Regions from separate parts of the Homo sapiens genome. Here region 2 is linked to region 1. Evidence: promoter capture Hi-C in human tissues and cell types (Jung and others, 2019). All regions are on one chromosome and are shown on one strand. The core of a region is centred on a gene start or on the middle of the fragment in contact, and the rest is flanking DNA. Distances in the headings are between cores, read along the strand shown.

Region 1 (7,822 bases), core at 1,828-4,327:
AGAGCATGGATGGAAAAAAGATGCTCCACAGAAGATCAGGAAGGAGCAGGGGGTGAAATGTTACAAATTCTTGAACTCAGAGAACTGAAGGTAGTTGCTTTCCTTTCAACCTGTGAAACATTTTAACCTGCGGTAAAAAATGTATAACGTGATAATTACCATCTTAACCTTGTTGAAATGTACAGTTCAGTTGTGTGAAATATATTCACATCATTGTTCAATTATTGTTTTCTAGATGTCTTATCTCAAGTCTGTCTTACAGTCACAAAATGTCAATGACAGAACACGGATTTACAGGGGAAAGCCTGCAGGTCCAATAGCCATAGACAGGAAGGTATGCTATCTGTCAGAGTCCCCATAGTGTGGAAATGAGTTTGCCCTTTTAAGGGAAAGAACAGCTTCTGGCCCTCAGGTTTCTCCCCTTCTCCTCTCTACACCCTAACCAAGGGCTCAGGTCCACTTATATGCACACAAATAGAAGGATTTTATCCTTTGCAGGAATTAAAATGGACCTAAAATACTTCTTTACATCATGGAGATCTACAGAAGCTAAAGTGCAAGCCAAAGTCCAAAAGGTGATGATGAAGGTCAACAGTCATTGCGAAATCTCTGGGCAAAGAAAGACTGCCGAGGAAGAGTAAGATGTTCACTGACACAAACACTGTTGTATGAACCATGTGCCAACCAAAGTAGACAACTGCAATGTCCCCGAGAATATTTTCCACAATATTTGTGGCAAATTCAGTGGGTGCAAAACTGAGCTTGTCCTTCCTGCTTGATTAATCTTCGTGTTTCCTTTCCCTTCCTACATTCTTGATTGTAATGTTTTAGGGGCAAGCGGAGGTCCAGGTACTGGCATTGTTAAATTCAATGCTTGGGTCACCTCTGGATTCATTTTCACAGTCTTTTAGCTTTTGGTCATATGACATTGTATTTTTCCTGCCACATGACTAGTCTTTTTGGCTAAATGTAAGACACTCGTTAAAAATATTTAGCAATGAATTGAGGCCTACTAGCACGTTATCTTGCTGTAGAAAAGATGGGAGTCTATTTCTGGGGAATGGGCAGGGGTCCTAGCACACCTAGACACCCTCCATACCATCCGCAATTGAGGTTATCAGTGAGGTTCAGTCCCTACAAAAGTCAGGGTGTTTCCTGTCCACCTCTATTCCTGGCGTGTGACTCTTCTGGGTCCCAACCAAAGCCAGTGGACTTCAGTAGGGGTCACCTTCACTAGCAGACCCTCAGTCTACTTGTTTTCCATCTAGTCCTCCACATGGTGCAAAAGCTGCTCTGCTTCTTTGCATCTCAGTTAGTCCCTTCTGAAATTCAGTGAGGAAACTGAGGGAAATGAGCCCCAAATGTGAGGCTGACCCTCGTCCTGGGTTCCTTCTTCTCCATCTTGGCCTCATGTCTCTTTATTGCCATTTTAGCAATTTGGTGCTTTCAGTCATGGGTTTTAGATTCTGCCCCATGTCCCCATTGCTCTCATGGGAGATCAGAAGCTTCACACGCACTCATGTCTACTCCAGAGCAGAATGCTTCCTTAGCTTCCCTCCAGACTCAGGTTTTGTGTTTCTAGTTCCCAAGTTCACAGCAGGAGTAGTGATGTCCTCACTGGCTTCTCATTTGCGTTAAACTGTGAACTCCTTTAGGGTGGGGACAGGACCCTGCTCCCATTGCATCCTCTGCACCTCACAAGACACTCCTTGCTTCAGGCCACTCCAGACAGCGTGTGCTGAAGGGTGCCCTGGGTGGTCAGAAACAAGTGCATGAACTTTCTCTTTGAAGTGTTTTTGTCCCTGTTTCCTAGAGTTCTTGGCATTTTACACGTCTTTCTTTCTTTTTTTTTTTTTTTCATATTAAACTTGTAGTTTTATTCAGGTTTGATTTTAACAAATGTGTCGGGGAGAGAGCCCGCAGGGAAGGGTAAAGCCCATGGGGGCAGGCCCTTCCCAGATGCCTGAGGAGGGGGCAGGTCCCCTCCCCTCTCCTCTTCTTCCCTCCCCATCTAAAGGGGTTTGGGGAGAGACACAGGCAGGCGAGGGGGCTGGTCCCCAGTCTGTTGGGTGGTGCTCAGGGTAAAGGGCTATGGGCAACAGGGGACCAGACCAAGGATGAGTGGGGAGGGCACAAGGACCATTTGCCAGAATCCACCGCTTTCTGATTCCAGATTGAATTTAAAAAAAAAAAAAAGACTAAACCACAAGCAGCACCCACCCCCTTCTCCCCCACCAGGGCTGTAGTGTGAGGGGAGAAGAGGAGGGCAGCTTCACCAAGGCCATGGCTTCGCTCGCTCCTGGCCAAGGGAGCTAGGTGAAGGGCAGGGGCTCCCTGACAGATTGAGGGGGTGGGGAAAACCAAAATAAAACGTCAAATAAATTGTGTAGGAGGAGTCCAACCTAGGACCAGGCCAGAGCCAGGCCAGGCTGGGGGAGGGGGCCTCTGCAGGTTCGGAGGATCACTGCTGCCACCACTGCCACCTTGGGAGCCAGTTATTTTGCCATGGCCTTGATTGCAACAGCTGCCTCCTCTGTCATGGCAGACAGCACCGTGATCAGGATCTCTTCTCCACAGTCGTACTTCTGCTCAATCTCCTTGCCAAGGTCTCCCTCAGGGAGACGAAGGTCCTCTGGTACCTCCCCGCTGTCCTGGAGCAGTGATAGGTACCCATCCTGGATGCCAATCAGCTGGAAGTCATTCCTTTTGATGTTGGGGACATCCATATTATGAGTTGACGGGCAGATATCTTCATATTTCTTCCCAGTAAAGATGTCAATACCAACCAGATGGACCTTGGCGTGGCCGTGCTTGCCAGTCTTCGAAGCAGACATCTCCACGATCTTACATGGCCAGCCTTTGAGCACCACAAAGCCATTCTTACGTAATGCTGAGCACTGCATTGGGAAGGTGGCTGAGGCCCCTGCATCTCCTGTCTCGAAGTCCAAATCATCTGCCATTTTAAGAGGCTTCGATTCCAACTGGCGCAAACGGCACTGACTCGACCCCGTCCGCTCGCCGCGAGCCCAACCGCTGCCTCCGAGCCCGCCGCCGCCGCCGCCGCCGCCGCCTCTACCCAGGCATTTTACACGTCTTTCATATGAAATCAAGTATCAAGTGAGATTTTTAGAATCAGAACCATGAATCAAGTAGTGTGAGGCAACACAGCAAACCCACCTTTTTAGGCCATTTCCTTTTTTCTGCCCTCAGTCTGTGTGAAACAAACCTTGTTAAAGTCTCTGGACACCAGAGGATGGTTTGCAGTTGTCACCTATTTTCAGGACATAACACCCTGACTAAAGAGCCATTGGATCATTTCCAATTCAGTAGATGCACCCAGCACTCAGATTGGCCTTTTCTCTCAACCAGGATCTTTAAAGTCGATGAGAAGAGTTCCAGTCCTGAATCATGGACATGTGCAGTAGTGAACCGCAGGGCTAATGACAGCATGTCCTGGAAGGATCTCTCTGAGGCTGATTGTCTGGGTTCTGGCATCAGCCTCTGATGGAGAATCAGGTTTCCCTGTGGGAGGAGTCAGACGAGGAGTGATCCTCTGCTCCGTCCTTATGGGTTTAGTTGTGATGAGCTGGTGAGGTCTGGTTTTCTACACTGAACTAAAATGAGCTTTCGCTATGTCAGGCAAAAGACTGACCCCAGAAGCACACATAGCGCATCTCATAGAAGCTTTTAATAGTTCATATTTACTAAAGAGTAGGAATACAGAGCGATGAAGATGAGCTGGAAACGACAGGTGACTTGCCAGCAGGCCAGAATGTGCTTTTTCTTTGTCCCATGGAAGGTGTTAATTCTCCCTCCAGTTGTGAGGATCAGTTGGTTCATTTATGGGAAGGTTGTCAGGGGACCTTTGAATCACGGCCTTCAGATGCCGCAAGGAATCCCACACAGGCCAGTGGATCACGTGCATGCATTTCTCTCCCTTCTCGACTCAGGAAGCTGAGAATGAAAGAACGTGAACGAGAAGAAAAGGGGAGGCGGCTGTCAGAGGTGGAAGAAACCATGAAATTGGCTCTAGAAAAAATACCCATCTGCAAGTGGGTTCGGAAACCGACACCAGCCTCTTGGGGAAGCGCTGGTGGAGTGTTTTGTTTTAAATCTTTGTACAATGTTTAGACCCAGTTAACACAGAAATGGAAACAAATGGTCAGAAGCGATACCTAGAGAGAGAGACAATTCACACCAGAGAACACAAGTACCTTAAGATTTACTAGTGTTCAAAACATGTGAAGTAGCCAAACATCTCCTGACTGCAATGCCAGCCAGACTGTGTGGAAACTCGGTTCATACCAGCCGTTCTAGGGGTGATGCGAGTTGTCATCATCCTTAGGAAAGTGTGTTGTTGTAGGATCAACCCATCCTTCAAAAGGACTGTGCCTATTTATAAGCTCAGCTGTTTCTGCCCTGTGAAATATGGCAAGGATATTAATTCCAGGAGAATAGAGCTTTATGATAAAAGATGCCCAATGAAGCATGAATTAGGGACATACTGAAAATGGGTAAGGAAATTGTCAACTCAGAACCCAGCAGGCATTAAGTAAAAGAGGAGGAAGCATTACAGCAACAGTTTTGATCATACTGTACTTTTATAGCCATGTGAAATACATTTTCTATGTATAGATAGATTGTGTAAGGGTACAATTGTGAGGACAACAGGAACATGGCAGATTATTTAAAATCATACTAAAGATGATGCTGTGTCTGATGAAAGTGATTCTAAACCATAGAAAAACGATTCAAGACAGACAAGAGCTGCAGCAGTGGGTAGAGGACTCCTACAGATGAGAGGTAAGGAGCCTTCCTTCCTGCAGTTGCAGGATCCTTAAACGCTCATCAAGATGATGCCACTGCCCCTAGAATCTGTCAACATACATTTTCTCATGTGTTGGCTTTTTCAGATCGCCCCTTCTGCTGCAAGAAAGGCCTCAACAACTGGGTAAGTTTGTTCATTTTTCCCTTGCTTTTCGGCCAAGTCGGGACATGGATGTATTTTTCTCCCCACAGCTCTGTGCTCAAGCCTTGCAGAGGGAGATGGCAGAGAGGAAGGCTGCCTGCAAGCAGCACAGGTAGGTGATTGTGATGGACAAATTTTAAGGATGTTTTTGTTTTAAGATGAAGCTTTGACTGTCTAGTAAAGAAAACAGTGTTTTAATTCTTCTACAAGTCAACTCTTTCACTGTCTTCAAGACAGGAAATGATGGAAAAGCAGGGAGTGCTGGAGAGACACATGAGTCAGGAGGCAGCCCAGGGACAGCTAGGGCTAGAGAACCCTTTCTGGAGAGGTAGGAGCTCTCTGGGAAGGCACCCGCTTAACTTCTGCTCCACAATCCACACCCCTGCTTCTCCTTTCTGGGGTGAGGGCTTGGGTTGGGTTATTGTTATGTTTCCTGGAAACAGTTCCAAGCACTTACTAAAGAGAACAGTTATCCCGCTGGGTGGCAGGACCGTTTTTCTCACGTGCCACAGCTGAATGACTCTTGGCTGGTCCCCTGTGAATAGCGGAGCACAGGCCCCTCCACTGACTGTGGACATCATTCCACCCTGATGTCTTGGTTACTTTTAACTGAGGGGATGAGCCTAGAAGGCAAATGGGTCAGCTCCCCTTCCAACCTTGAGTCAGTGGGAAGGCTTTATTTTTTTTATTATTATTTGAGAAAAGTAACACTAGTAACATTTTAGAATGGGAGCCATAAGTGCTGATGAGAGCAGAAATTTTCTGGCTATGTCTTCATGGATCAATATTTCTTCTTTTCTTAAAGAATCAGAAGACATAGCCAGAAAACAGAGAAGACAAAGGTAAATGCTGGAGTCATTTTCCCTCTGCCTAGTTCAGGACAGTTTTGTCTTTTCCTACAGCGCCCTCTCCTGGCCTGTCCTCTGCTCTCTGGGTTCTGTGGTGCCTTTTCTAACTGGACTTTTTTGAAAGCAAAATCTTCCCCATGAGCTTTCAGGCTTCTCCATTTCCAGCTGGTCATCTTTGGTGGCACCTCCAGAAGCCATAAATGCTTAAGGGCCAAGGGCTGCAGGGCTGTCACTGTTCTGTTTCCAGAAATAACATGAGAGGATGCCATTGAACTCCACTGAGGTAGGTCTTATGGCCCAGTAGACCCTGACTGATCCCTTTTACTCAAGATGGTGTGGGATCCCCTTTCCAAAATATGTGGGGTTTCCTTTTTTTTTTTGCTGTGATTTTCTTTTCTGCTATAAGGTAAGTGATTAACCTTCAGAATATCCGCCGTAATCCCAGAAGTGAAAACTCATTGATCCAACATTAATATGTGCTTTGTGCAATTTTGAATGTTCTTTGGCAAAGTCAATTCCATAATTCATCACAGTCCCATCTCTGTTGTTAACTGTGTTGAGCAAAAACGCCCCCACCCTCACCCAGTGTTGCCCTTGATCTAATATTCTAAGTGTCAGAGGTTCCATATTTTAATAGAAAATGTGCCCTGGCTGTGAGGTAGTGGAGAGTGAACGTCACTCATTACCTACAGGGACAATTCTCAATGAAGGCCTTAAATGATGCTCAATTAAGCTGGTTCTCGTGTGGCCTCTGTGTCTTCGACAGCTGCTGAATCCTCTGATCACACACGATGGGACTTGTACACTTGAAATCAAACATATTTTTAAAACTTCTGTTGTTGAGAATTCCCACCTCATTTTTCCATGGACAAAATTATTCTTTATGTCATAGTGCACTTAAAATTTGGTATTACCTAGAAGTTAAAGAAATGTGATAACCATGCCAAACTGATATCTCTATGTAAGATTATTCCGTCAGAAAACCCTCTCCCAGTTCCCCTGCAGCTCTTCAGGAATCCCCATCTCCCCAGAGCTCTTTGTGCCCATGGATGGCGCTTCCAAAGTAGAGAAGACCGTTTGTCAAGAAGGGAAGCAGAAGGGGGACGAGAGGGTCTTGCAGGCAGAGCTGGAATCGACTTCCACTCTGCTTCTTGCAAGCTGTGTGATGCTAGGTGAAATTTCTCCTTCCTCTGGAGCCTCTATTTTCTTAGATTTGGAGCAGGGTGGTCACACTGACCTTGTAGATTTCTGAGAATCAGAGACAGCACATGAAAAGCCTGGAGGCCATTCTCTTAAGAGTAGCTGTGACTCATGTGTGGACAATGGGCTTTTCATGCTTCTGTTTCTCTCTGTTTATCTGATGCAAGGAACATGCTCCGGTGATGATGGTGAGGGAGGAATTAGGATAGACATAGACACCCCTGTGTCAGAAACATGCTTCTTTATTACTGGGTTATGACTCTGTCTTCCCAGGGACAGGCCCCCAGCCTGCGTACATTTGCAGACAGAGTGGCGTGTGGGGATAGCAGTTTGTCCCCACGACTTTTCTTCACTCCCCTGCTGTTGGCAGGACTCAGTTGAAGGGAGACTTTATGGCATTCATGCTGCCATTTTGAAACCTGGAGGAGGGAAAGGTGCAAGGGACTATCACCCGAGGCATAAGGTGCAGCTTGTGTTGGTTTTGGTGTTTTTGTCCATCATATTCATATATTTCAAAACATTTTCTCCTCCTGACTTGTAGGTCAATGTGGCTGCAGGGAAGCTCATCCTTTCTCAGAATGGCCCTACTTGCCCGATCTCATGGCTGGCCCTTCAGGACCATTGATGGGCTGCCAGCCGCCTCCTCTACCGGGTGTTGTCTGGGAACTCAAACACTCCCTCCATCTGAAGGTTTTCTGGGACCTCAACAAACTCCTCCACTGGAGTGTCCTCTGGGAACTCAAGCACCTCTTGCACTGGAGAGTCCCCTGAAAACTTAACCACCTCCTCCACTCGATTGTTCTCC
Region 2 (7,822 bases), core at 2,437-4,936, 610 kb before region 1:
AAAAAACAAAAAAAACCCTTCTGGATTGGAGATACCTGAAGTGTAAACCTATCAGTCACCTACATTCTCCAACACTGGATATTTATTATTTAAAATTTTGACAGCTTGATGATGGAAAATGTTACCTTGTTGTTATTGTTATTTACATGCTACTTGTTATGAGTGAGGTTAAGCTTTATTTGCTTCTTCGATTACTTTTTTCTATTTTCCTCCCTTTCCTTTATATACTCTGATTATTAATGCAATGCCTGTTATATATGTTGGCAATGTCTTCTTCCAGCCTTCCATTATATTTAAGTTTCTTGGTGGTGTCTTTCATCATTCAGAAGTTTTAAATATTAGGTAGCCAAATCTCTCAATATTTTCTTTTCTTTTTTTTTTTTTTTTTTTTTCTTTTTTGAGACGGAGTCCCTCTCTTTCGCCCAGGCCGGACTGCAGTGGCGTTATCTCGGCTCACTGCAACTTCCGCCCTCCTGGGTTCACGCCATTCTCCTGCCTCAGCCTCCCGAGTAGCTGGGACTACAGGCGCCCGCCACCGCGCCCGGCTAATTTTTTGTATTTTTTGTATTTTTTGTAGAGACGGGGTTTCACCGTGTTAGCCAGGATGGTCTTAATCTCCTGACCTCGTGATCCGCCCGCCTCGGCCTCCCAATATTTTCTTTTATGGCTTATAGAGTTTACAACTTGCTTATGATTCCTCGAATCAAGGCTGTAAAGATATTTTTCTATGTTTCCTTCAAACAGTTTTAAGGTTTTCTCAAGGTCTAATGTCTAATCCATCTAGAATTTTTATGTGGTTGCAAGGAAGGAATCAAACTTAAATTTTTCCCTAAATGGGTATCTAAATGTCCTAATGCTCTTTATTGCCTAGTCCATCCTTTTACCACTACTTTGAACATAAAGTAGTTGGCTAGCTACTCATTTCCGAGGGGAGTTCTGGGAAAATCTCTCTACATCATGTCTGTCACAAGGTCAAGGAAACAAAAATGCAAAACAGACATATAATTTCAATAAATACTGAAACCATATTTGATGAAATTAAACAGGCCTCCCTAACTTAAAAACAGTAATAACAACAAACTTAGGATAAAAATAAAGGAAATAATGGGACATTTCCTTAACAAGATAACTACCTTTAATTTTTATATTTATAGTTTTTCAAATTAAAAAAATAATAAAAATAGAGACGAGGGGTCTTGCTGTGTTGCCCAGGCTGGTCTTGAGCACCTGGGCTCAAGTAATCCTCCCGCCTCAGCTTCCCAAAGTGCTGGGATTACAGGAATGAGCCACCATGCCCCGCCAACTACTTTTATCTTAAATAGTTCATCTGTACATAACAGAGAAAGGAGAAATGTATTCTTTATTAAATCAGGAATGAGGTAAAGATGCCATTATTGGCCAGGCATGGTGGCTCATGCCTATAATCCCAGCACTTTGGGAGGCCAAGGTGGGAGGATCACTTGAGCCCAGGAGTTTGAAACCAACCTTGGGAACACAGCATGATCCCATCTCTACTAAAAATTAAAAAAAACACACACACATTAGCGGGGCGTTGTGGCACACACCTATTACTGGGGAGGCTGAAGCAGGAAGATCGCTTAAGCCTAGTAGTTTGAGGCTGCAGTGAGCTATAATCACACCACTGCACCCCAGCCTGGGTGACAGAGTGAGACACTGTTCTAAAAAATAAATAAATAATTTAAAAACTTAAAATTAAATTAAAAATTTAAAAAATAAAAAAAGATGCCACTATCAACAAGTGTTTGGCTGGGTGCAGTGGCTCATGCCTGTTAATCCCAGCACTTTGGGAGGCAGAGGCAGGTGGATCACTTGAGGTCAGGAGTTCGAGACCAGCCTGGCCAACATGGAGAAACCCTGTCTCCACTAAAAATACAAAAATTAGCCAGGCGTGGTAGCACACGCCTATAATCCCAGCTACTAGGGAGGCTCAGGCAGGAGAATTGCTTGAACCCAGGGGGCGGAGGTTTCAGTGAGCCGAGATCGTGCCACTGCACTCCAGCCTGGGCGACAGAGTGAGAATTTGTCTCAAAAAAAAAAAAAAAATTAAGATAAGTGTTTGGAAATCAATTTATTTCTGTATACCAACAGAAACTGGCCCAAACATGTAAAGGGAAACTCCTGGGCAAAATGATAGTATGGAGCCAGTGGACCCAGTTGACAAACCTCCTCCTTCCAATATTCTTGAAAGTGACCAGTGAAATTAAAGATAGGGGAGACCGGCATCAGTGGCAGGAACTAGAGAAATATGCCAACCATATACCAGGCCTCAAAGCAAGGTGGGTAGCCAGCTGGATCTAGTCATACCTCTTATTATTTATTATTATTCTATTATTTGCTAAACTTCTCTGAACCTGGTATTGTGCTAAGGCTGTATATGCATTACCCTATTTAATCCTTGCATCAGTAAACCTATCAAGTAGATATCCTTATCCCCATTTAAAAAAATAAGATCTATTAAGTATATCTGATTCAAGAGTAGAGGGTGGCAGATCCCAGTTTGGAAGCTAGGTGGATCCGATTCCAAAATTCATGGTCCTCTGCATGATCAGGCCTCTTGACTCTGAAGTCCCAGGAAAGGCACTAAATAGAGAATCTGAAGAGTGGAGGTGAGAAAGGGATGAATGGGATATGGGGGGCGCAGAGTGGCAAGCCCTGTGCAGTTAGGGGAGAACGCTCATAACCACCTGCATGAATGAAGTGCCCTAATGTGCAGACGTTTCTCTTTCACTTAATGCTCCCATGACCCTGGCAGATACCGTCACAATCTGCGTGGACTGTGAGGCTACCTGCCAGGGTCATGGGAGCATACAGAATGTAAGGCTTGGAGAAGTTAGGAGGTGGGCCCAGGGCACACAGAGACTAGTTAGGGATTTGCCTCCCAGGCACCTGTACTGCCTCCACAGGCAATGCTACAGGATGTGCTCAGGTCCTCCCAGCCTGGCTGGGCCGGGGCACAAGTGGTGGGAAATCTGGCAGGGGCTTGCTCTCCCAATCCATACCCAAAGGCAAAGGGCCAAAGGAAACAGGAAATAGGGGCTGGTCATCTCTTTGGGGAGAGAGATGGGGTGAGAGGACAGCCCAATTAAAAGAGCGTCAGTGGCTGGGAGGGCCTGAGCTGTACAAAGCCTCCTTGTCTTCTTCCTTTGGCACAAGAGAAGATTTCCAGAGGTACCAGAAAGACCCACGCCGGGAGAGCTCTCAGTGAGCACTGGGCAAACCTAGCCCATTCTGCACAGATGAAGAGGGGCTACTAACCCAAGGCACAGAAGTTATAGCCAGAGAAAGTGAGCCAGTGAAGTGTGAATGTGGATGTCTCTCGGGGGAAGGAAAAGGAGGGGGCGACTTGATGGGTTGAGATTTGTTTTTTTGAAGTTGGAAGTAGTGGCTCACTCCTGTAATCCTAGCACTTTAGGAGGCTGAGGCAGGAGGGTGGCTTGAGTTCAGGAGTTCAAGACCAGCCTGGACAACATAGCCATACCCTGTCTCTACAAAAAAAATTTAAAAATTAGCCGGGTGTGGTGGCACACACTTGTAGTCCCAGCTATTCAGGGGGCTGATGTGGAAGGATGGCAGGAGCTTGGGAAGTCGAGGCGGCAGTAAACTATGATTACATTACTGCATATGCCAGCCTGGGTGACAGAGTGAGACCCATCTCAAAAAAAGAAAAAAATAAGAAGTTTTTTGTTTCTTTTTCTTTTTTTTTTTTTTGTTCCCAAGTTTTATTCAAGAACTCATACAAAATATTCCAGATAAATGAAATTTAATCCTCATCTTCCTCGTCCTGATTAGTTTAGAAATAATGTAATCCATAACTCTCTTTGCTGTTAGCAGCTACGAAAACCAATCACATAGATTATTCTTCTTTGAATATTTTTTGGTGTAATATTTCAAATACCTTTTGGAAAAAGTCACCTCAGATATCATGGCGATCTTTCTCTTGCTCCTTTCGATGGTCACCACCCCTCCGCCAAGTTTCCCAGCTTTTCAGTTCACTTTGATCCTCTCTTGCAGAAACTGCTCAAAATTGGCAGCGTCTATGATTCCATATTCTACGGGGTGGGTGCAATCAAGACTGAACTTCAGAACCTGCTTCTTTTTTTTGCCCCTCTTCACCACAAGCTTTTTCCCGGGAGCCATGGTGGCAGTGGAGGCAGAAAGAGAACTGTTTCTTTTTAAATTGTTATTAATTTTATAAAATTTCAGTAGCTTTGGGGGTACAAGTTATATTTGGTTGCATGAATGAATTGTATAATGGTGAATTCTGAGATTTTAGTGCGTGCACCACCCAAGTAGTGTTCATCGTACCCAACATGTCGTATTTTATTCCACACTCCCCACCCATCCTCCCCGTTCTGAGTTTCCAGAGTCCATTATATCACTCTGTATGTCTCTGTGTCCTCATAGCTTATCTCTCACTTATAAGTGAGAACATATGGTATTTGGTTTTCCATTCCTGAGTTACGTCACTTAAAATAATGGTCTCCAACTCCATCCAAGTTGCTTCAAAAGACATTATTTCTGCTGGGTGCAGTGGCTCACGCCTGTATTCCCAGCACTTTGGGAGGCCGAAGCAGGCGGATCATGAGGTCAGGAGATCGAGACCGTCCTGGCTAACACGGTGAAACCCTGTCTCTACTAAAAAAAAAAAAAAAAAAAAAAAAAAAATTAGCCAGGCATGGTTGCCGGCATCTGTAGTCCCAGCTACTCGGGAGGCTGAGGCAGGAGAATGGCGTGAACCCGGGAGGCAGAGTTTGCAGTGAGCCGAGATCGCGCCACTGCACTCCAGCCTGGGTGACAGAGCGAGACTTCATCTCAAAAAAAAAAAACAAAAAAGACATTATTTCGTTCCTTTTTATGACTGAGTAGTAGTCCATAGTGCATATATACCACATTTTCTTTATCCATTCATTGATCAATGGGCACTTAAGGTGGTTCTGTACCTTGGGAATTATGAATTGTGCTGCAATAGGCATAACCCCTTTATTTTGCCCCCTTTCTTACATGTGGCCCTGAATCCTCCCAGGTAGGAGAAGATGTAGGAAGATAGGAAGATCCGCTTGGTACAGGGAGAAGCAAAGTGTAGAATGAGGGTAGAGGTTTAATATTAACAGTTATGGCCGGGTGTGGTGGCTCACGCCTATAATCCCAGCACTTCAGGAGGTGAGGTGGGCGGATCACCTGAAATCAGGAGTTTGAGACCAGCCTGGCCAACATGGTGAAACCCTGTCTCTACTAAAAAAAAAAGAAAAAAAAAAAGAAAGAAAGAAAGAAAAAAAAAAAAAAAAAATTAGCCAGGGGTGGTGGCACATGCCTGTAATCCCAGCTACTTGGGAGGCTGAGGCACGAGAATTGCTTAAACCCGGGAAGCAGAGGTTGCAGTGAGCTGAGATTGCATCACTGCATTCCAGCCTGTATGACAGAGCAAGACTGTCTCAAAATAATAATAATAATAATAATAATAATAATAATAATGATATTGGCCAGGCACAGTGGCTTATCTTGTAATCCTCGCACTTTGGAAGGCCGAGGTGGGTGGATCACTCTAGGTCAGGAGTTCGAGACCAGCCTGGTCAACATGGTGAAACCCCATCTCTACCAAAAATATTCTTAAAAAATTAGCTGGATGTGGTGGTGTGCACCTGTAATCCCAGCTACAGGAAGACTGAGGCAGGAGAATCGCTTGAACATGGGAGGCAGAGGTTGCAGTGAGCCGAGATCGTGCCACTGCACTCCAGTCTGGGTGCAGAGCCAGACTCTGTCTCAATAATAATAATAATCATAATATTAACAGTTATAATAAATAGTTATATTCCTAACAGCCAACATTCATGATTTCGAATTCATCGTCTAACCCAGTGTGAAGTACTACATAGTCTGGTTTTTTTAATTTGTAAAAATTTTGTTATAGATTTATTTTCTTCTGATTAAAATTTTTTTAATTTTTATGGGTACATAGTAGATATATATTTATGGGGCACATGAGATGTTTTGATGCAGGCATACAATGTGTAATAATTACATCAAGGTAAATGGGGTATCTATCACCTCAAGCATTTATCATTTTCTGTGTTACAAACATTCCAATTGTATGTACTCTTTCAGTTACTTTTAAATGAACATAGAAAAGGTACAGTAGGCTGAGCATGGTGGCTCACACCTGTAATCCCAGCACCTTGGGAGGCTGAGGCGGGTGGATCACGAGGTCAGGAGATCGAGACCATCCTGGCTAACACGGTGAAACCCCGTCTCTACTAAAAAATATACAAAAAATTAGCTGGGCGTGGTGGCATGCACCTGTAGTCCCAGCTACTCGGGAGGCTGAGGCAGGACAATGGCGTGAACCTGGGAGGCAGAGCTTGCAGTGAGCAGAGACTGCGCGCCACTGCGCTCCAGCCTGGGCAACAGAGTGAGACTCTGTCTCCAAAAAAAAAAAAAAAGAAAAAAGAAAGGGTACAGTAAAAATAAAAAAGAAAAGTTATTTAGTGGCTGGGATTACAGGTGTGAGCCACTGTGCCTGGCCAACATGGATAAGTTATTTAGTGGCAATTTCTGAGATTTTGGTGCACCTGTCACCTGAGCAGTGTATACTGTATTCAATGTGTAGTCTTCTATCCCTCACCCCCTCCCACACTCTCTTCCCCCAGTCCCCAAGTCCATTATATCACTCTTATGCATTGCGTCCTCATAGCTTAGTTCCCACTTACAAATGAGAACATATGATTTTTGGTTTTTCATTCCTGGGTTACTTCACTTAGAATAATGGTCTCCACCTCCATCCACGCTGCTGCAAATGCCATTATTTTATTCCTTTTTATGGCTGAGTAGTATTCCATGGCTACATAGTCTATTTTTCAGTTAATCTTGGCTGCTACCCTATGTGATGGGTTCTGTGATTATCCCAGAGCTTAGCAATAGCAGTTTTCTAACCAGTGTCTTTTGAAGTGATAAATCCATGTTTAGAAGAGGAGAAAACTGGCCTAAATGGAGGGTCCAGCAAAAGAACTCAGCCACCCATAGTGCCTGGTATCCACTTACTCGGTTTTGAGATGTTTTTGCAGCAGATTCACATTGCTAAGTGTCAATTCAGTTCATTGTGAAATCCATGACTATTTCCTGAGAATCTGTCAAGCTATGATTCCTGAATTCCCTGTGGGCTCAGCGGGTAGGAGTGGGTTGGCATTTCCCTCAAGCTCTTTGAGAATTTTCTCTGCAATGCTCTCTAGGGAGATGATCTTATTTTGGCTCCTTGAGGTGAGAGTTGAAGTAAAATATAAACTGTCTGAAGACATTGCTTGGCTGACTGTTCAGAGCATTTCTGAGTTAGTATCTCTTAGTAAAGGAGGCAGAGGAATTGAGTTCAAATCGTGACTTTGTCCTTATTGGTGGTGTAGCCTCAGGCAGTTCACCTCCTCTCCCTGAGCCTCATCAACAAAGATGGAGTAATAATAACATCTATGGTCACAACACAATGTAAATTCTCTTGCTCACCTGCCTCTAACCTGCTTTCCTGGGCCTGTCACTATGTTTTCTTTGCTGTATGTACTTGTAGGTTATAAATCTCCTGAGGGCAGAAAGGGTTGTGAGTAATGCCAGCTAGGCCTGCAGTGGTCCTGGAGGAGGATCAAGGTTTCCAGGAGAGATGACTGGTGACCAAGGAGGAGCTGGCAGCTAACTCTGCTTCCTGAAGGAGGTGTAAAGTAAAGGCCTCACAAAGGGGTCTTTGAACATGAGTAGGAGTTTTCTAAGCAGTGCATCCTGCATGCCATGGAGTTTAACAAAGGTGGGTGGGTGACAGGTGAGT

What was found. Contacts are between HindIII fragments. The study calls those that stand out against the background at their distance.
Region 2: a contact is called between a fragment that was not itself captured here and the fragment with the promoter of EIF5AL1 in region 1, in 2 of the 25 tissues and cell types used here (H1 embryonic stem cells and aorta).

Annotation. Positions count from the first base shown.
Region 1 is chr10:79,507,788-79,515,609 of GRCh38, reverse strand. It overlaps EIF5AL1 (eukaryotic translation initiation factor 5A like 1), which reads right to left and starts at 3,077. Exons shown (of 1, transcript NM_001099692.2): 1 at 1-3,077. The coding sequence starts at 2,960. The coding sequence ends at 2,496. LOC729815 (a long non-coding RNA gene) reads left to right here and starts at 4,628. Exons shown (of 3, transcript NR_136624.1): 1 at 4,628-4,803; 2 at 5,020-5,081. The HindIII fragment of the contact is 1,814 bases long and covers 2,596-4,409 here.
Region 2 is chr10:80,122,277-80,130,098 of GRCh38, reverse strand. It overlaps the pseudogene RPL22P18. Among named protein-coding and RNA genes, the nearest start is that of PLAC9, 6.5 kb to the left of the region's middle. The HindIII fragment of the contact is 7,775 bases long and covers 1-7,573 here.